Linked DNA regions of Homo sapiens: regions 1, 2, 3, 5, 6 and 7 are each linked to region 4. Evidence: promoter capture Hi-C in 16 types of primary human blood cells and fetal thymus (Javierre and others, 2016). All regions are on one chromosome and are shown on one strand. The core of a region is centred on a gene start or on the middle of the fragment in contact, and the rest is flanking DNA. Distances in the headings are between cores, read along the strand shown.

Region 1 (2,700 bases), core at 175-2,674, 990 kb before region 4:
ATGTTCACCATTAATTAATTGGCTGGTCTTATATATTTAAATTTTCATAAAGTAGATTTTCAGTAAGTGGAGCATAGGTGAATTCAACAAACAGGTATGAGGCATAATTCTGCTACTTACTAGCTGTGTAATTTGAGGAAAGTTCCTTGACCTAAGTCTCAGATTTCTCATTTGCAAAAAGGAGGATAGAAATAATTCATGTAACACACTTAGTGCTCTGACTGGATCAGAATAGCATTCAATAAAGTTTTACTACTACTTTAATGATAACTATTCCCATTACCTTCTTATATAATCTACTAGGTGCTAGAAATATAAAGATAAAAGGCATAACCTTACCATCTAGAAGCTTAAGGCTTAGTAAGGGTGTTGGAATAAAAGACATTAAAATACAGTGCAGGCCCGGCTCAGTGGCTCACACCTGCAATCCCAGCACTTTGGGAGGCCGAGGTGGATGGATTACTTGAGGTCAGGAGTTCGAGACCTGCCTTGCTAACATGGTGAAACCCTGTCTCTACTAAAAATACAAAAATTAGCCAGGCATGGTGGCGGGCGCCTATAGTCCCAGCTACTTTGGAGGCTGCGGCAGGAGAATCGCTTGAACCTGGGAGGTAGAGGTTGCAGTGAGCTGAGATCGCACCACTGCACTCCAGCCTGGGTGACAGAGCGAGACTCCATCTCTACATAAATAAATAAAAAATAAAATATAGGTCAGGCACAGTGGCTCATGCCTATAATCCCAGCACTTTTGGGAGGCCAAGGCGGACGGATCACGAGGTCAGGAGATCAAGACCATCCTGGCTAACATGGTAAACCCGTCTCTACTAAAAATACAAAAAATTAGTGGGGCGTGTAGCACATGCCTGTAATCCCAGCTACTCAGGAGGCTGAGGCAGGAGAATTGCTTGAACCCGGGAGGCGGAGGCTGCAGTGAGCCGAGATCTTGCCACTGCATTCCAGCCTGGGCAACAGAGCGAGACTCCACCTCAAAAATAAATAAATAAATTAATTAAATAAAATACAATGTAATGCACATGTAGTAGGGTTTCTTTCCATAGGATGCCTGACAGTGGTTACATTTTAGTAAGACTATATCGGTGTAGGCTATGATTAAAAAATATATCATCTTGGAATTGTTGCGCCACCCACATCCTTATTGGGTAGGGGGTTAAATAAGTAGCTTCAGTTGTCCTTCAAGAAAGGTATCAGGAAAGCTCCTATAGTTTTTTAATTGCTTTTTTTAAGGGAGTTAGTCACCAATGAGGACTAGAAGGATGATGGCTCTAAACCCTCAAGGTGGTGAAAACTGGAGCCAGCCTCGATTTAGCACGCCTGAGCACGGATCCCAGGAGGTAGATGTGTGTGGAAACAGAAATACCAGATCCCATGAGAATCAGACACCTAGAGCCTAGCCTGGCAGCACCTGAAGGCCCTTGGATCAGGGTGACACTGGGGCAGGCTAGAAAGGTCTCACTCTGGCCCAGATTCTGATGCTTTGCTGACACCACTGTGCCAGTTCGCCAATGCTCTATCTCCATTTATGTTACATCTTCTGCCAAATAGCTTTGCTGCCTTGCCCCTGAACCACTGCATGCTCAGCAGCTGGTGCTTCAGCATCCTGCAGCTGTAGCCCAGAAGTCCTCACTGCCTCATATGTTGAGATGACTGAATTTGGCCAGGAGTCCTTCCTGTGAGAAAGCCCTGGAGTGTGGGCAGCCCATCCTAGAAAATAAACAAAGCAGCTTTCAGCAATGAGGGACACACAGCCAGTTTTGCTACATTCACCCTTCTGGCTCTGTCTTCAGCCTAAGCTGCTCCTTTCAGGTCCCTCCCTTGGGACCTCAAGCCTCCCTTTCAGGCCCCTTTTAAGCACAGCAAATCCTGTATGCATTAAGGGGAGGTAGTTGAAGTTTGGGCTTCTGGGTTTTATGTTATTACTGGCTTCTGAAAGCTCAAACATTTGCACTCCAGGGATGATAGTTGCATCTGTTAAATTTAGTGTAAAGCTGCCTCCTTACATATTTTAAGTTAGGCCTAAAGGTTTCCCCATACATGGTGAACTGTAGCCTAATTGGGTATGTAAACAGACTGTAACCTATTCTTGTACCAATCACAGAGTTCTGGCCAATCACAAGTGGCCAACTGTTCAAACCGTGTTCAAATAGGGCAAACCTGAGCTACAACCAATCCAGCTGTTTCTGTCCCTCAATTATGTTTTCTGTAAGTCACTTTATTTTTTCCGACCACTCGGCAAGACTGGAGCCTCTCTGAACTTACTTTGATTTGGGGTCTTTTTGATTTGCAGATCATTCTTTGGGTTCTTTGCTTGATTAAACGCTGTTAAGTTTAATTTGTCTAAGGTTTTTCTTTTAACACACCCCAAACTGTAAGTGGAGGCATCCTACTTACACAGTAATAGAAGAATGCATAAAGCAATAACATGAAGGAACAAGTGACAAATTCTGTAACGCCATGTGTTGGGGAAAAGTTCTGAGAGTGGAAGCTTGAATAGGTTTTGGAAGTATGAGTAGGAGTTTACAAGGAGAGAATGGAAGAAGGGGAATTACGGACAGAATAACATGGACGGAGGCCGGCCGCGGTGGCTCACACCTGTAATCCCAGCACTTTGAGAGGACGAGGCCGGCAGATCACCTGAGGTCTGGAGTTCGAGACCAGCCTGACCAACATGGAGAAACCCCA
Region 2 (2,700 bases), core at 183-2,682, 620 kb after region 4:
TACTTTTAGAAATAGATGTTTGAAAAATTATGCAGAGTGGTTTAGAAATAAGTTTTTTTTATAATTGTATTCTTAGAAAGTAAGAATAAATCTTGAAATCACATTGAAGGAAAAATGTTTATGGAAAAGAAGTTTGATAGGCATGTAAAATCAGAATGACTAATACTTGGTTTATTTTTTAGGGCCATGCTGTAGGACTTGTGAAGAATTTAGCCTTGATGGCGTATATTTCAGTTGGATCTCAACCATCTCCAATTCTGGAATTTTTAGAAGAATGGAGTATGGAAAATTTAGAAGAAATTTCTCCTGCAGCTATTGCTGAGTGTGTATAGATGGAATTAGTTTTTTAAACTATAGTTAATCTTTAGTTGTTGCTTAGTATAGAATTGTTAAGTGTAAAATGCTTTTGCTTTTTCATTGTAGTGCAACCAAGATTTTTGTTAATGGCTGCTGGGTTGGAATACATAAAGATCCCGAACAACTTATGAACACCCTAAGGAAATTGAGACGTCAGATGGACATCATTGTGTCTGAAGTAAGAATCTTTAGTTAAGAGGGTGTGGACTGTGAGATTTTTAAACAAGGCATAGGACTAGTGAAAGTTATCTTTGCATTGGCATCTTTTCTTTGAACTTTATTCCCTTGAACTGTAAAGTGTAAATTTAATTATAAGTTATTGCTAGGCCGGGTGCAGTGGCTCATGCCTGTAATCCCAGCACTTTGGGAGGCCGAGGCGCAGATCACCTGAGGTCAGGAGTTCAAGCGCAGCCTGGCCAATATGGCGAAACCCCATCTCTACTAAAAATACAACAATTAGCCAGGCACGGTGGCATGGGCCTGTAATCGCAGCTACTCGGGAGGCTGAGACAGGAGAATCACTTGAACCCGGGAGGCGGGGGTTATGGTGAGGTGAGATTGCACCTCTGCACTCCAGCCTGGGTGACAGAGTGGGTCTCTGTCTCAAAAAATAAAAAAAAGCCTGGGCATGGTGGCTCACGCCTGTAATCCCAGCACTTTGGGAGGCTAAGGCAGGCGGATCACAAGGTCAAGAGATTGAGACCATCCTGGCCAACATGGTGAAACCCTGTCTCTACTAAAAATACAAAAATTAGCTGGGCGTGGTGGCGCGCGCCTGTAGTCCCAGCTACTCAGGAAGCTGAAGCAGGAGAATTGCTTGAACCCAGGAGGCGGAGGTTGCAGTGAGCCAAGATCACACCACTGCACTCCAGCCTGGCGACAGAGCGAGACTCCATCTCAAAAAAAGAAGTTATTGCTTGCCTTAATCTTTCGATGCATGCTTCCAAAAATTTTGGCACATTTTAAATTATTAAATTATATTTTAGAACTCAAATTACATTTTAAAGTAAAAATTCTTTTGGGAATCTTTTTATAAAGCTGAGAATACTTTTTAAAAGGGAATAACCATCTGGGATTTATCCTTTGAATCCAGAGATTCATTAATAAAATGTGATATACCACTAATAGATTCTTTTATATTTTGGAGGATATTGAAGTGCTTTGGGATTAGGATGGGTTTTAAAAAAATCATTACAATAAGGCCGGGCCTGGTGGCTCATGCCTGTAATCCCAGCACTTTGGGAAGTTGAGGCAGGCGGATCACTTGAGGTCAGGAGTTTGAGACCAGCCTGGCCAACATGGCAAAACCCTGTCTCTACTAAAAATAAAAAAATCAGCTGGGCATGGTAGCATGTGCCTGTAGTCCCAGCTACTCGGGAAGCTGAGGCATGAGAATTGCTTAAATCCGGGAGGCAGAGGTTGCAATGAGCAGAGATTGCACCATTGTACTCCAGCCTGGGTGACAGAGTGAGACTCTGTCTCCAAAAATTTATTAAAAAAAAAAAAAATCATTACAATATATTGTGAACTTTATTACTCTCCCAAGTAAGGGTTTTAGTATACTGTTTGCGGAATGTAGTTCAGGCTTTTAATTTTCCCAAATCTATACCTTGGGTGAAAGTGGTTTTTGAGAGAAACTGAACACGCTTAGCCAGTAGCTGGTCTTTGTACCTAAAACAGCAGAGAAGAGAGTTTGGTTGTTCTGGGCCTTTTCCAGCAGCAGACCCTGAGTGTTTTTTTGTTATTGTTGTTGGGGGGCAGGGACAGAGTCTGGCTTTGTTGCCCAGGCTGGAGTAGAGTGTTGCTATCTTAGCTCACTGCAACCTCTGTCTCCCAGGTTCAAGAAATTCTCATGCCTCAGCCTCCTGAGTAGCTGGGATTACAGATGTGTACCACCATGCCCGGCTAATTTTTGTATTTCTATTTTTATTTTTTTGAGGTGGAGTCTCACTCTCTTGCTCAGGCTGGAGTGCAGTGGCATGATCTCGGCTCACTGCAACGTCTGCCTCCCGGGTTCAAGCAATTCTCCTGCTTCAGCCTCCTGAGTAGCTGGGATTACAGGTGCCTGCCACCATGCCTGGCTAATTTTTGTATTTTTAGTAGAGACTGGGTTTCTCCATGTTGGCCAGCCTGGTCTCGAACTCCTGACCTCAGGTGATCCACCTGCCTCAGCCTCCCAAAGTGCTGGGATTATAGACGTGAGCCACTGCACCTGGCCAATTTTTGTATTTTTGGTAGAGATGGGGTTTTGCCATAGTTGGCCAGGCTGGTCTTGAAGTCCTGGGCTCAAGCCATCTGCCTGCCTTGGCCTTCCAAAGTACTGGGATAACAGGTGTGAGCCAC
Region 3 (2,700 bases), core at 25-2,524, 850 kb before region 4:
CTGGCTAATTTTTTTCTATTTTTTTGGAGAGCCAAAGGCCTCGCTATATTGCCACTACACTCCAACCTGGTCAATACAGAAAGACCTCTTTATCAGTATAAAAAAAAATTTTTTTGCTTCTTGATTATGGTGATTACAAGAATGTTTAGGTTTGTCAAAACTCAAGCTGCATACTTAAATTGGGCAGATTTTAACATATATACATTATACCCCAATAAAAATCAATTTTAAAAAATATACATCAAAAACTGAAACCCAACAACAAAATACCTAAAGAACACTACATAAAACAGCTCATAAATATTGAGTATTCTGCATACCTTTAAAAAATGACAGGCGCCAGCTAGAGTGGCTCATGCCTGTAATCCTAATAATTTGGAAGGTCAAAGCAGGAGGATCACTTGAGCCCAGGAGTTCAAGACAAGCCTGGGCAACAAAGTCACATCCTATCTCTGCAAAAATAAATGACAATAATAATAATAATAGGAAATTGTCTGCACTTAGGTAAAATGAACTAGTTTGAAGCAGGCCAATATTCTTGCTAAGAACAACTTAAAAAGCTAAATAAATTATAAAAATCATATTTTTAAAGTTAGTGAGGAGCTGTGGAAGCATGGGAAAGAAGGTCTAAAATTCCAGTGATGGGAGAATCTTTTTTTTTTTTTTTTTTTGAGATGGAGTCTTGTTGCTCTGTCACCCAGGCTGGAGTGCAGTGGCACAATCTTGGCTCACTGCAACCTCCACCTCAGAGATGGGGAGAATATTTTAAAGGTATTTAGATGACCAGTATCTGTCTTTTCCCTGGGAGTATTTCCTAATTATTGCTTGGGTTAGAGGCTGAAAATTGAGGCCTGACCTGTGTAAAATATTGTTGCTGAGGAACACAGAAGCCAGGACAGCTTTTGGTGTTCACACAGGGCTGGAATAACAACACTAGGAGACTAATTCTCCTAAAAAGTTTCACGCAAGGACCTCAAGCTTAAAGGTGGTATCTCCCCTCAGCATACTTGCTGAATTTTAAAACCGTGCAGGGTAAAAGGCTACAAAGTCAACTAAAAAACTTTGAAAAGCAAAGTGAAATTTCCTACCTTTGGCATTGCTAAAGGGACAAGACCAATAGGCTTTGAAATGAATGCCTTAGAAGACAACATCTGAAAAAACAAGGAAAAATAAGGATAGCAAACTATTAAAATAGCAACCCAGCCTCCACATAATTTAAGATGATGGGCTCCTGATATGGGTTGGATGCTTGTCCCCTCCAAATCTCATGATGAAATGTAAATGTAATTCCCAATGTTGGAAGTTGGGCCCAGTAGGAGGCAACTGGATCATGGGGGCAGATCCCTCATGAATGGTTTAGTACCATCTCCTCGGTAATAAGTGAGTTCACACAAGATCTGGTTGTTGAAAAGTCTGGGACCTGCCCCACCTTGCTCTCTTGCTCCCACTCTTGCCTTGTCATGCACCTGCTCTCCCTTCACTTTCAGCCATGACTAGAAACTTACTAAGCCTCACTATAAGCAGATGCCGGCACCATGCTTCCTATACACTTTGGAGAACCGTAAGCCAATTAAGCTTCTTTTCTTTATAAATTACCCAGTCTCACGTATTCTTTTATAGTAATGCAAACAGACTAATACAGCTCCCTAGCCTATCTGCATAGAAAATGAACTTCCCCTTCCCCCACCCCTCTCCCAACCCGGCAAAATGTACCATTACCTGGTAATGCTTACTTAAGTTTTTTACTACACAATGCCTGGCATTCAATAAAAAATTATGAGACATAAACAAAACAATCAACAGACTTGACCTAACTGACATTTGTAAAACACTCCACCTAACAACAAAACACACATTCTTTTCAACTGCACATGAAGAACACTTACAATGATAGAATATATTCTAGGCCATAAAATAAATCCGAATAAATTTAAAATTATCTCATTACAATGGAATTAAATTAAAAATAACAATGATCTCTGGAAAATCCTCAAATATTTGAAAACTATATAACACACTTATAAATAAACTATAGACCCAGTAAGACATCAGGAAAGAAATTATAAAGTACTCTGAATGGAATGAAAATGGAAACATATCAAAAACTGGAAACGGCCAGGAGTGGAGGCTCACATCTGTATCCCAGCACTCCAGGAGGCCAAGGAAAGAGGATTGCTTGAACTGAGTTCAAGACCAACATGGGCAACACAGTGACATCCTTGTCTTCAGAAAAAATTGTAATAAACTCTGGCCAGGTGTGGTGGCTTACACCTGTAATCCTAGCACTTTGGGAGGCTGAGGCAAGTGGATTGCCTGAGCTCAGGAGTTGACGACCAGCCTGGGCAACATAGTGAAACCCTATCTCTACAAAAAATACAAAAATTAGCCAGGCATGATGGCACGCGCCTGTAATCCCAGCACTTAATAGACTCTGGTGCGAGGATCTCTTGAGCCTGAGACGTCGACACTGTGGTGACCCCGTGATTGGGCCACTGCACTAAAGCCTAGGCAACGGAGTGAGACCCAGTCTCAAAAAAATAAAAATAAAAATAAAAAATTAGCCAGGCATGGTGGCACATGCCTGCAGTCCCAGCTACTCAGGAGGCTGAGGTGGGAGGATCACTTGAGCCTGAGAGGTCAAGGCTGCAATGGGCCATGATCACGATACTGTACTGCCTGAGCAGTAGTGAGACCTTGTCT
Region 4 (2,700 bases), core at 191-2,690:
AATAACTGCCAAGACCCATAAGTTTGAAAATGCTGTGATTTCTAAATATACAGTTTAAACATATAAGGCAACTTTAGTACTTACATTATTTATTTTTAGTAGGCATTTCTATAAATATTAGCTCTTTTTAATGCACAAGATACAATTTTAAGCTTTCCTCAGACATACAATGATCATTATGTAAATATAAGGGAGGCTTTCTGCAGCAGGCGCTTAAATTATGAGGAATGAGTTCATTTCGCAACATACAGGTAGCGCAGAAGGGTACCTACACATCTATACGATAATTAAGATGTTTCTTTCCATTTTCCCAATGGTTGCTACAGACATTTAAGGTAAAATCCATTCTTCTTGTCTCAGGTTTTCATTTTCATTCATTGAATCACAAATAACATTCTCTGCAGTAGAGAATACTAAACTTATTAATGCCCAAATGTTTGAGACCTTAAAAAGGAAAAAAAGGCCGGGCGCGGTGGCTCACGCCTGTAATCCCAGCACTTTGGGAGGCCGAGGCGGGTGGATCATGAGGTCAGGAGATCGAGACCATCCTGGCTAACAAGGTGAAACCCCGTCTCTACTAAAAATACAAAAAATTAGCCGGGCGCGGTGGCGGGCGCCTGTAGTCCCAGCTACTCGGGAGGCTGAGGCAGGAGAATGGCGTCAACCCGGGAAGCGGAGCTTGCAGTGAGCCGAGATTGCGCCACTGCAGTCCGCAGTCCGGCCTGGGCGACAGAGCGAGACTCCGTCTCAAAAAAAAAAAAAAAAAAAAAAAGGAAAAAAAAAAGCAAACTCTGGTAAGCAGATTTTACATGTAAAAGGAATAAATTTACTTGCTACAACTGTAGAAGCTGCTATTTAGTCAACAAAGATCTTAAGAGTGTCAGCAAATTCAATTGCTATGGGGCCTCTCTCTAGGCCACTGGCTGTTTTAAAAATGGATAAATAATCTAGAAACTTTATTTTCCCAATTCCCCGGCTTCTAAATTTACGGTATGCAACGAGTAACAATGCAATTTACAGCTTCCTAAACATTTCTTCATTGCTCTTCGAAACCACTCTAGGGGGTAGCTGAGCGCGGAGCACACTTATTTCCATTTGAATGGAGGGGCGGAGGCTAGTGACGCAGGAGTGTACACACAGGTCAGGGTTAGTCTGCACCACACCAGCACGCCAGACCCCGATGTATCAAATCCGAGGTCAGGCAGTGGTCCTGAAGCTGAGCAAATGTATGTGGAAGCAGGCTCAGGCCTAGCGGCACTTCGCCTCCTTCACACAGACCCCCGCCGGACACCGCGCCCTGCCGCGACTCACTTAGCAAGTCTCGCGGATTAGGTTTGATCGCATTCGGCCCTTTCCCGGATAGCTCGTCGCGGATACTTCTCACAGCGAAGCAGCAGCTCCCAGAAGCCGTAAAGCTATCCCAGAGCGAGGCACCATACGTAAATCTTCCGCGTCGCTACGTGACGTCAGTGCGAGCGACCCCGGGCCGGCTGCGTGGAGCTGGCGCTGCCTCTCCTGAAGCCGAGGCGCTAACTTGAGTGAAGAGGTCTATAGGCTTTTTCACTTTTGGTTATCTGCTCAGGCGCTCCTTGGGGTCGCGCATGGTCTCGGACAGGGTTTGCAAGGACTTCGGAGCTAACCAGTTTGGAGCCATAACCCTTTCGTACTTGCCAAAAAACTCTGGGCAAGACTCTTGAATTTTGAGCCGCAGTATTCTCGTTCATAAGGTGAGAATAAAAACATCACCTAGGGTTGATGTGAAGAGAGATGAAATCATTGTGAAATAGGAGAGTTATTGCTTTCAACCAATGACATTTTCTGGAAACGTGCTGGAGATATGGCTGCAGCAGTGACGCCTGCAAACGACGTTCCTGTCATCATGATGCTGACATTTTAATTGGGAAGCAGATTGAAACGATAACTAAGGAATTTGACAGGAGCATTTAGTAGGACCTGTAAAGAAATTAAAGCAGGTCCGAGGTGGAGTTTTGTAAACTATATGCCTGAATAGAACTTTCTGTTTCCAAGGGAATTGTTACAGTTGGAGACATGTCAATTATTACAATAAGCGTCAAGGGCAATAACAGAGGTGTTTTAAAGCTACTGTCTGGTGGCAGAATAATCGGGATTTTTTTGTTTGGGGGGTTTTAGCCGGGGGAGGGACTGCGAAGACAGCTCTGCATCAAAACAGTACGTGAGAAAAAAGCATAGGACGCTCTCGCAGCCGTAGTTGTTGGTGACAAGAAACTGTGCTTCTAATCTAAGCAAAAAATATCTCCACATGCCAACTATACTTTTCCAAGATGTACCATGGACTACTCAAACTAACACAGCCTTATTTATGTATTTAGGTTGGAAGTGGGCAAAAGTGTATCTTGTCTATGTTTCTATGTTTCTACGTTGGGATGACACCATCATCCACCCAGCCAGACAGTTATCAACCTTCCCACTTTCTTAACCTCTTACATCCGATTAGACCCTATGTCCTCTAGTTCTCAGTCTTGAGACCAGCACCCAGCTGGCTACATCAGAATTGCCGGTGGTGATGTTTTAGAAGATTCCAAATTCCTGGACTCCATCCCCGGAGGTTCATCCCCTAGTTTTCTAGTGAGGGGCCTAGAACCTGCGTTTTTTAAGTGTCATGTTCATCGCCATTACTGCTACTTTAGTTCAGGTCTTCTTGGTCAGCTTTTTCCTAAA
Region 5 (2,759 bases), core at 220-2,719, 670 kb after region 4:
CAAGTCATTTAGGGAACTTCCAGAGGCGGGATGATGTAGCAGCTGAACCCTGGTATGGGAATCTAGCACACGGTCTCAGGGGTACTGGCTGAGGACAGCAGGGGAGGAGAAGAAAGTACAACAGCTTAAGCAGCATAGGCCAGATTTAATCTCAGGCTTTTAGTTTAAGGCAAATTCATCTAGTTATGGAAGCTACTGTTAGTCATTTCCACTTTAGTGTGAATGAAGAACCAATAGTTTATAATAATGGGACCCTGCCAAACACTGTTTAGGGCAAAAGTGTGTAAGAACTGCTTCCTCTTCTCTAAATATAATCTGTTGGGGTGGTGTTGGGGAGGCTTAGCGCATTAAGAGTAAGAACAAAATGCTGGGAGGTAATAGACTATAGTGACTTTGGAGCGTGGACTTGGAATCAGGAATTCTGCTCTACCACTCCTGAGTTATGCAACATTGCACAAGTTATTTCACTTCCCCTGCTTTATTCATCTGTGAAATGGAATGATAGTATCCCAGTCATTAGACCATCAAAAGGATCAAACAAGATACAGCCATTAGCACAGTACCTGGCATGGGGTAAACATTCAGTAAGTATGAGCTGTTGCTTTTCATTTCAGAAATTAGACTTTCATCAAGGAAGGTGAAAGACAGGGACCTGCCTGAGGAGAGGCAGGAAAACGCTGGCCTGCCTTGAATAGTGAGCATGCGGGCCAGCTCGGGAAGAGGATTCGTGTGTGGTGTAGGGCACAGCAGAAAGCAGATGAGGTGGGGCCTCACCCTCCAATGTGTCTCTGAAAGTGGGAGTGTCATGATTCAAGTGGCATTTCCCAAGATGATTTTGGAGGTCTCCGCATCAGGATGGGACATGGCGGGGATTAAGGCTCTAACTCAAGGTCGCAGCAATGAGAAGACAGAGAAAAGGGGAAGACTTGGGGGATTATTCAGGAAGAACTAACACTACCCAGTAACTGACTGGATGTAGGAAAGAGAGGCATGATTTAAAGGCTGTGAGCCTCAAAGGTTCCAGGAGGCTGCCGCACCATGAACAGAAGCAGGGGTGTCAGTCTGAGGAAGGTGCTGGATTGAAGAAGGGGAAAGGGTGGACTTGGGTTTAAATTTGCTGAATTTCAGGTATCACCTGGGCCATGAGGAGGCACTGAACCCCAGTGGGGAGACCAGAAGTGCCAAGGCAAGCACTGTCTAGCTGACATTTTAGCCCTGGGAAGGCTATGTGGGGTCCTTTGGGTGGAAGGAAGACAGATTTGGCACTCCCTCTCACTAGTTTCTCCAGAGGGAGTTCCATCAGCTCACTGCTGACCACCTGGCCCGTCCCCACCCCACCCCAGGTAAAGCAGATAAGTGAATAGCACGGCCTTGCTTAGCTTCCAGGCACGTATTTGCAGGGCCAGTCCATCTAAGAGCAGACCATTCAATACAATGCTGCCCTGGTGACCGCGTGCCCAGGTCTTGTGAGTTGAGTTCCTGGCTGATTGCTAGTTACCTCTGGATTAATAAGACACCTCGTTTTGGGTCCAATCTTTGATGCTGAGAATCTTCGTAGGGAGCATGAAGTCTGTTTTTCTCAAGTGGACATAGTACTCAAATATCTCACTACGATGACTGTCAATCTTGTGATATCTCACAATTATCACTGTAATTTTGAATTGACCACAGAACATGCACAGAAAGTTGCTTCTTGCAATGTGTTGGTTGCTTGCAAACAAATCTCTTATTTGATGATGCTTTCTTTTCTATCTTTTTTTTTTTTTTTGAAATGAAGTCTTACTCTGTCGCCCAGGCTGGAGTGCAGTGGTACAATCTCGGCTCACTGCAGCCCCTGCCTCCCAGGTTCAAGCAGTTCTCCTGCCTCAGCCTCCAGAGTAGCTGATACTACAGGCACACACCATCACACCTGGCTAATTTTTGTAATTTTAGCAGTGATGGAGTTTCACCATGTTGATCAGGCTGATCTCGAACTCCTGACCTCAGGTGATCTGCCCGCTTCGGGCTCCCAGGGTGCTGGGATTATAGGCGTGAGCCACCGCACCTGGCCCTTGATGATGTTTTCTTATTCTTGTCCCCTTCCTTGTATGGGTCTAGCATTAAAAAAAAGTGGGGTACTGACAAAGAGTCTGACTCCAGGGTGTGGTTCTTGCCCATGGTGGTTCTGGTACATGTGGTCTGGTGTCATTCTTGAAGGGACCCTGCTACTGCCATGAAGCAAATCCATGAAGGACTTGAAACCATGTTCAGGTGTGCAAGATGGTGAGCTCGCTCTGGTAACCATGTGATAGATGAGGTAACATGGGGCTGTGCCAACAACATTGCCCAGGGATGAGCTAACGTATTCAGCAGAGCTCCCCTAGGAAGCTGGAATACCTACACTATCATCCTAATACCAGACTGGCTGAGGTCCACACAAGTTGAATCAGCAGGCTAGGTTTTGAATTGGTTTGAGGACCTGGAAGAACTGACTTTATAGAGAGTGCTTTCCCGAGACGAAACTCCCTAGTGATGTTAACATAGCCTTGGAAACACATTTTTTCCACATCTCATGGGCCTGTCCTGTCTGGACTATGACTCACCTTAAATACAAGATATTAAATGTTTTTGCTAGCGCTTTCTTATTCTGCAAGCACTGAATTGGGTGGGAAGTTCCCATAGGAAACTTATTGCTAACCACGTGGATGGTCACACCTGATTCTGGGATTCCTAGAAGCCTAGATAGTGAGTTTCCCTAGGAAATTTCTCCTTCTTTTCTT
Region 6 (2,700 bases), core at 118-2,617, 720 kb after region 4:
GGCTAAGATCAGGAGCTGCCAACATTGAATGTCTGACTTTCCCTTGAAAATACTGCCAATGGAAAATGTTATTTCAGGCATTAGAGTTAAAATTTCTATGTGTGTGTGTATGTGCGTGTATTTGCAAGTCCAGACTTTATTTTCTTCTTTCTTTCTTTTTTTTTTGAGATGGGGTCTCTGTCTGTCACCCAGGCTGGAGTGCTGTCATGTGATCTCGGCTCACTGCAACCTCCGCCTCCCAGATTCAAGCGATTCTCCTGCCTCAGCCTCCTGAGTAGCTGTGATTACAGGCATGCACCACCATGCCCAGCTAATGTATATATATATATTTTTTATTAGAGATGGGGTTTCACCGTGTTGGTCAGGCTGATCTCGAACTCCTGACCTCGTGATCTGCCCATCTTGGCCTCCCAAAGTGCTGGGATTACAGACGTGAGCCAACCCACCCGGCCTATTTCCTTATTTCATTTACAGCAAGCTTGGACTTGTTTGGAATAAAATAAACAATCAAACATAATCTCAAAGACATTTCTGCTGAACAGTGTATCCTGGGGACAAATTATGCAAAACAATACAAATCAAAGAAATAGGAAGGAAAAACAAAATGGTCAGAAGGTTGACAACAAAGTGCATCACAAAAACAGTCTTCAAAGAGTTTGTATTTTATTTTTGCCCACAAATAATTAGCTAGTTAGATTACTGTTTGAGAACCTATAATTTTTAGAAAGTGGACTATTTTCTTCAATACTAAGAAATCAGGGCTGTGCACGGTGGTTTATGCCTGTAATCCCAGCAGGCCGGGATTACTTGAGCTCAGGAGTTCGAGACCAGCCTAGGCAACATAGTGAAACTCCGTCGCTATAAAACAAAACAAAACAAAACAAAAAACCAAAAATTGGCCAGGCGTGGTGGCACAGGCTTATAGTCCCAGCTACTTGGGAGGCTGAGGCAGGAGGATCGCTTGAGGCAGAGGTTGCAGTGGGCCAAGATCGTGCCACTGCCCTCCACCCTGGGCGACAGAGCAAGATCCTATCTTTTAAAAAAAAAAGTCTGTCTGGAAGTCCTTACTTTATATTTAATTGTCAAACTCCTTTCCCCCATCTCTTGACTTCACCTCTCTCTACATCCCCAAGCCAAGAATGATGAGAAATGGACAGATGTTAGCACGAGTTGGGTGCGCTTTGGGCATGGGGAAGTCTGAGGTCTCGGAAAATCTTTTCTACATATACACCCGGCCCTCACTTTCTGGACGCACGCAGCAAACTCTCAAAATAAAACCACCAAAAAGGAGAAGGGGGGGCGTCGCCCACCGCTCCTGGCATTCCGCGGCTGCCAACTCTTTCCCTCCCATCTGGCTCCTGGGATGCCCGCGGGGGAATCGCAGTGAGCAGCGCGGGGCGAGGCCGCCGCGGACGCCCCGTCGGATGTGCCCTTCGCTGGGCCGAGCGGCGCAGGGTTGGAGAGGGAAGCGCTCGTGCCCACCTTGCTCGCAGGTGCCCTTGCTGACCTGGGTGATGGCCTTCTCCCCGCGGCTCTCGGCCCTCTGGCTGGCGGCGCGCAGCTGGCAGCCGCTCGGGTAGGTGGTGCCGTCGCTGCCGCACACCGGGTAGCGGCTCTTGCACACGCACACGCCGCTTACACCCGGACCGCCGGCTGCTGCCCCGGCTTTACCCTTCCGCCTCTTGCGGCTCTTCACGCACTCCATGCCCGGCGCGCAGTACCCCCTGCCGGCGCCGCCACCCCCGCACGGCTCGCCCTCGCCGCGGGCGCACATAGGGCAGCAGCCGCACGCGTCGCGGGTCTCGCCCAGCAGGCAGCCCAGCGGGGGCAGGGGCGGGCAGGAGGCCGGCTCGCAGGGGCCGCAGGTGTCCGAAGAGGAGGAAGAGGAGAGGGGCAGGAGCAGGAGCAGCAGCCCAGCGGCGCCGAGGAGCAGGGCGCGCAGCGACGGCCGCTCCATGGCGGGGTGCGGTGGCAGCGGCAAGGGCGCGAGTGAGCCGTGTCGGGCCGGCCGGCGCCTTAAACCCGCCGCCCCGCCCGGCCTGTCCGCGGGAACCACACCCCGGGGCGGTGAGAGCACGGGGGCCCCGCCCGTGCCGCCCTCCCGGCCCCGCGGGGCCTGCGCGCGCGCTCCTGCTGGCGTCGGGGGGTGAGCGGGCACCCGGCGTGACCGGCCCATGGGCGCTCGGTCTCACGCCCGCTTCGCAGAGCTCACCCCGCCAGCTCCTGCTCGGTCCCCAGTCCCCTGCCCCGAGCCCTCAGGGATCGCACCGCAGTGCGAGCGGCTCTTCCACCCTCTGGTTTCTCCCCGTTTCCGGTCAATATATTTAAACTTCTTAACAACCACGGCTTCGAGACGATCCAGGGTTTCATCTATTAAATCCTCCGTGGGCCTGAGACACCTGAGTGCTCATTACTCTGTGGTTTGGGAAGCTCTCTTAAGAACAAGCTGTTAAAAACCCCCACTTGTGGACTGTGTCCCCGCTGGCCACAGGCCTGCTGTGGTCTTGGGTGTCAAGCACTAAAAGGACAAACCGTTGCCAACCACTTCCCTTTCTGGAACCTCTTAACTGCCTGCACCTCCCTCCCCGCTTTGTCTCCCAGTGGCATTCAACAAGACTCTGTGCTTTTTTTGTGCTGAGCCGTTTTCAGTGAGTACTGGAATCCGTGTGAGAGCTGTGCCCTTGTTTTGAGTTCTTGCTG
Region 7 (2,700 bases), core at 12-2,511, 570 kb after region 4:
TTATGGTGATTAAAGATACAAAACATATTACAACTTTAATTTGTCTTAGTAACTTTGAAGAAGATGTTGTTATTTTAGTTTAATTAGAGGGGGGAAAAGCAGAGGGATTACGTGTAACTTTTTAAAATAAAACTTTGAACCTAATATCACATAAAAGTCAAAAAGTACTTTGATGGAATTTATTTTACTTCTTTTGGGTGTCATGAATACAAAAGAGGTGACATGCTCAACACCACAGTGCTGCAGAGCCAGGTAAACAATCTAGAATAAACTTGCTTCATTGTTTTCTAGCAACCCCTAACCACCTCTGTGATCTGTGGAAGTGAGGAGTTGGTACTTTGCCCTTAATTTCTCCTCCCGTTCCTGGCCAGAAGAGCCCACTAATTCTTGTACCCTGTCATAGTGTAAGTGACTACTGATTCAAAAGATGTCGTTATATTCAGATTAATGGATAAAGAAGTACAGTCATGTATCGCATAATGACTTCTTGGTCAGCAATGGGCCACATATACAGCCGTAGTCTGGTAAAATTATAATGGAGTCAGAAAATACCTATTGCCTAATGATTTGTGTTACAATTGCCTACAGAATTCAGTACAGCAACATGTTGTACAGGTTTGTAGCCTAGGAGCCATAGGCTATACCATACAGCCTAGGTGTAGAGTAGGCTATACCATCTAGGTTTGTGTAAATACACTTTATGATGTTTGTCCAAAGATGAAATTGCCTAACGATGCATTTCTTAGAACACATCCCTGTTGCTAAGCAATGCACTACTGCACCAATACAGTAATGGAACTTTCTTAAAGGAAAATCTACTAGGAAACACTTGATCCTAGCAGTGATCCTAGGCTGCATTAAATTGGAGGCACAATATGGAATAAATTAATACCAGATCCCAGTAGAAGTCCTCAACTAATTCTAGGCATAGAGCATCTTTCTCACTCTTTTTGCTGGCTTTCTTTCCTGCTTTTTTTTTTTTTGAGATGGAGTCTTGCTCTGTCACCCAGGCTGGAGTGCAGTGGTGCAATCATGGCTTACTGCAGCCTCAACCTCCCAGGCTCAAGGGATCTTCCCACCTCAGCCTCCTGAATAGCTGAGACTACAGGTGGGTGTCACCATGCCCAGCTAAATTAAATTTTTTTTTTTGTAGAGACAGGGTCTTAACTATGTTGCCAGGGCTGGTCTTGAATGCCTGGCTTCAAGGGATCCTCCTGCCTTGGCCTCCCAAAGTGTTTGGATTATGGGTGTGAGCCCTGTTTTCTGAAATACATTTTCTTAAGTTGTCAGGGTGATAGTAGTCAGTTTTTAGATTGTTTCTCCACAAAGGCCCAGTTCACCCTTTGCTGGCTTTCTTTCCTGCCTGTTTTTTGTTTTAATTCTACCTAAATATCCTGGCCTAAGCTCTGAACTGTGAACTCCTGTTTTCAACCATAGGTAGAAATATAATGACCATAATTTTTTTTTTTTTTTTTGAGATGGAGTTTTGCTCTTGTGCCCAGGCTGGAGTGCAATGGCACGGTCTTAGCTCATCGCAACCTCTGCCTCCCGGGTTCAAGCGATTCTCCTGCCTCAGCCTCCCAAGTAGCTGGGATTACAGGCATGTGCCACCACACCTGGCTAATTTTGTATTTTTTTTTTAGTAGAGATGGGGTTTCTCCATGTTGGTCAGGCTGCTCTCGAACTCCCGACCTCAGGTGATCCACCCACCTTGGCCTCCCAAAGTGTTGGATTACAGGTGTGAGCCACCGCACCCAGACACAATTTTAACTTATAAAATAAATGGTATTTCATTCCCTCCAAAATAAAAACTAGAAATCAACTGCCAATCAATTTTCTCCATTTGGGAAGCTGCCGCCCTCTAGAGGTAATATGATGTTGGGGGCACTTTCCAGTTGTCACCAGGACTGACAGCAGAGGGAGTTGCTACTGCATTTAGTGTCTGGGATGAGAGATACCAGACATAATGAAATGCAGTTTTTTTGTTTTTTTTTGAGACGGAGTCTTGCTCTGTTGCCCAGGCTGGACTGCAGTGGCGCGATCTTGGCTCACTGCAGCTTCCGCCTACCAGGTTCCAGGGATTTTCCTGCCCCAGTCTCCGGAGTAGCTGGGACTACAGGCACGCGCCAGCGCAGTCAGCTAATTTTTGTATTTTTAGTAGAGACGGGGTTTCACCTTGTTGGCCAGGATGGTCTCAATCTCCTGATCTCATGATCCGCCCGCCTCGGTCTTCCAAAGTGCTGGGATTACAGGCGTGAGCCACCGCGCCCGGCTGAAATGCAGTTTTATATATAAAGAAAGAACCACCTTGCCCAAGATACCAGTAGTACTCACTTTGAAACACTATGAAAGGTCTACAACAAGTTGCATCATCTTAAAAAATTCTCCATTATATTTAATCTAAGAGGACTTAGAAGAGGACTGAGGAGTGGGGAGAAGACAGGAGAGTGTGAAATACATGGGGGCTCCCATATGTTGGGACAGAACATGGTCCTCTCAGGAATTTCATGGCTCTAACTGCGTTTCAGCCTAGCTTATCTTACCAGCATTTATTTCAACATTAGGATCTGGGACTTGACTTGCCAATTCTTCATGACACAGCTGTGGTACTACTTACTCAGCTAGGAATAACAAAAGGTGTAGACTTTTTCTTTTTTCCTTTTTTCAGACAGGGTCTCGCTCTGTTGCCCAGGCTGGAGT

The links. The method cuts DNA at HindIII sites, captures the fragments that hold promoters and counts their contacts. A CHiCAGO score of 5 or more calls a contact.
Region 1: a fragment that was not itself captured here is called in contact with the fragment with the promoter of AASDH in region 4 in 1 of 17 cell types (naive B cells); the score reaches 5.4 in naive B cells.
Region 2: a fragment that was not itself captured here is called in contact with the fragment with the promoter of AASDH in region 4 in 1 of 17 cell types (naive CD8 T cells); the score reaches 5.7 in naive CD8 T cells.
Region 3: a contact is called between a fragment that was not itself captured here and the fragment with the promoter of AASDH in region 4, in 2 of 17 cell types (total CD8 T cells and total B cells). The highest score is 6.3, in total CD8 T cells.
Region 5: a fragment that was not itself captured here is called in contact with the fragment with the promoter of AASDH in region 4 in 1 of 17 cell types (monocytes); the score reaches 5.9 in monocytes.
Region 6: the fragment with the promoter of IGFBP7-AS1 here is called in contact with the fragment with the promoter of AASDH in region 4 in 1 of 17 cell types (monocytes); the score reaches 8.9 in monocytes.
Region 7: a fragment that was not itself captured here is called in contact with the fragment with the promoter of AASDH in region 4 in 10 of 17 cell types (naive CD4 T cells, naive CD8 T cells, total CD4 T cells and 7 more); the score reaches 9.8 in naive CD4 T cells.

Annotation. Positions count from the first base shown.
Region 1 is chr4:55,391,994-55,394,693 of GRCh38, forward strand. No RefSeq gene overlaps it. Among named protein-coding and RNA genes, the nearest start is that of TMEM165, 2.6 kb to the right of the region's middle. The HindIII fragment of the contact is 2,154 bases long and covers 348-2,501 here.
Region 2 is chr4:57,010,566-57,013,265 of GRCh38, forward strand. POLR2B (RNA polymerase II subunit B) reads left to right here. Exons shown (of 25, transcript NM_000938.3): 12 at 183-322; 13 at 424-535. Among named protein-coding and RNA genes, the nearest start is that of POLR2B, 33 kb to the left of the region's middle. The HindIII fragment of the contact is 8,493 bases long and covers 1-2,700 here.
Region 3 is chr4:55,535,088-55,537,787 of GRCh38, forward strand. All of the region lies in intron 1 of CLOCK (clock circadian regulator), which reads right to left. Among named protein-coding and RNA genes, the nearest start is that of CLOCK, 10 kb to the right of the region's middle. The HindIII fragment of the contact is 597 bases long and covers 977-1,573 here.
Region 4 is chr4:56,386,051-56,388,750 of GRCh38, forward strand. AASDH (aminoadipate-semialdehyde dehydrogenase) reads right to left here and starts at 1,441. Exons shown (of 15, transcript NM_181806.4): 1 at 1,312-1,441. RefSeq lists enhancers at 859-1,366, 1,336-1,705, 1,367-1,873, 1,736-1,785. The HindIII fragment of the contact is 3,410 bases long and covers 151-2,700 here.
Region 5 is chr4:57,051,267-57,054,025 of GRCh38, forward strand. The region is part of intron 1 of IGFBP7 (insulin like growth factor binding protein 7); the gene reads right to left. Among named protein-coding and RNA genes, the nearest start is that of IGFBP7-AS1, 57 kb to the right of the region's middle. The HindIII fragment of the contact is 3,080 bases long and covers 1-2,759 here.
Region 6 is chr4:57,108,395-57,111,094 of GRCh38, forward strand. It overlaps IGFBP7-AS1 (IGFBP7 antisense RNA 1), which reads left to right and starts at 1,368. Exons shown (of 5, transcript NR_034081.1): 1 at 1,368-1,576. IGFBP7 (insulin like growth factor binding protein 7) reads right to left here and starts at 1,991. Exons shown (of 5, transcript NM_001553.3): 1 at 1,483-1,991. The coding sequence starts at 1,957. RefSeq lists a silencer at 2,060-2,129. The HindIII fragment of the contact is 3,416 bases long and covers 477-2,700 here.
Region 7 is chr4:56,958,558-56,961,257 of GRCh38, forward strand. No RefSeq gene overlaps it. Among named protein-coding and RNA genes, the nearest start is that of NOA1, 18 kb to the right of the region's middle. The HindIII fragment of the contact is 9,798 bases long and covers 1-2,700 here.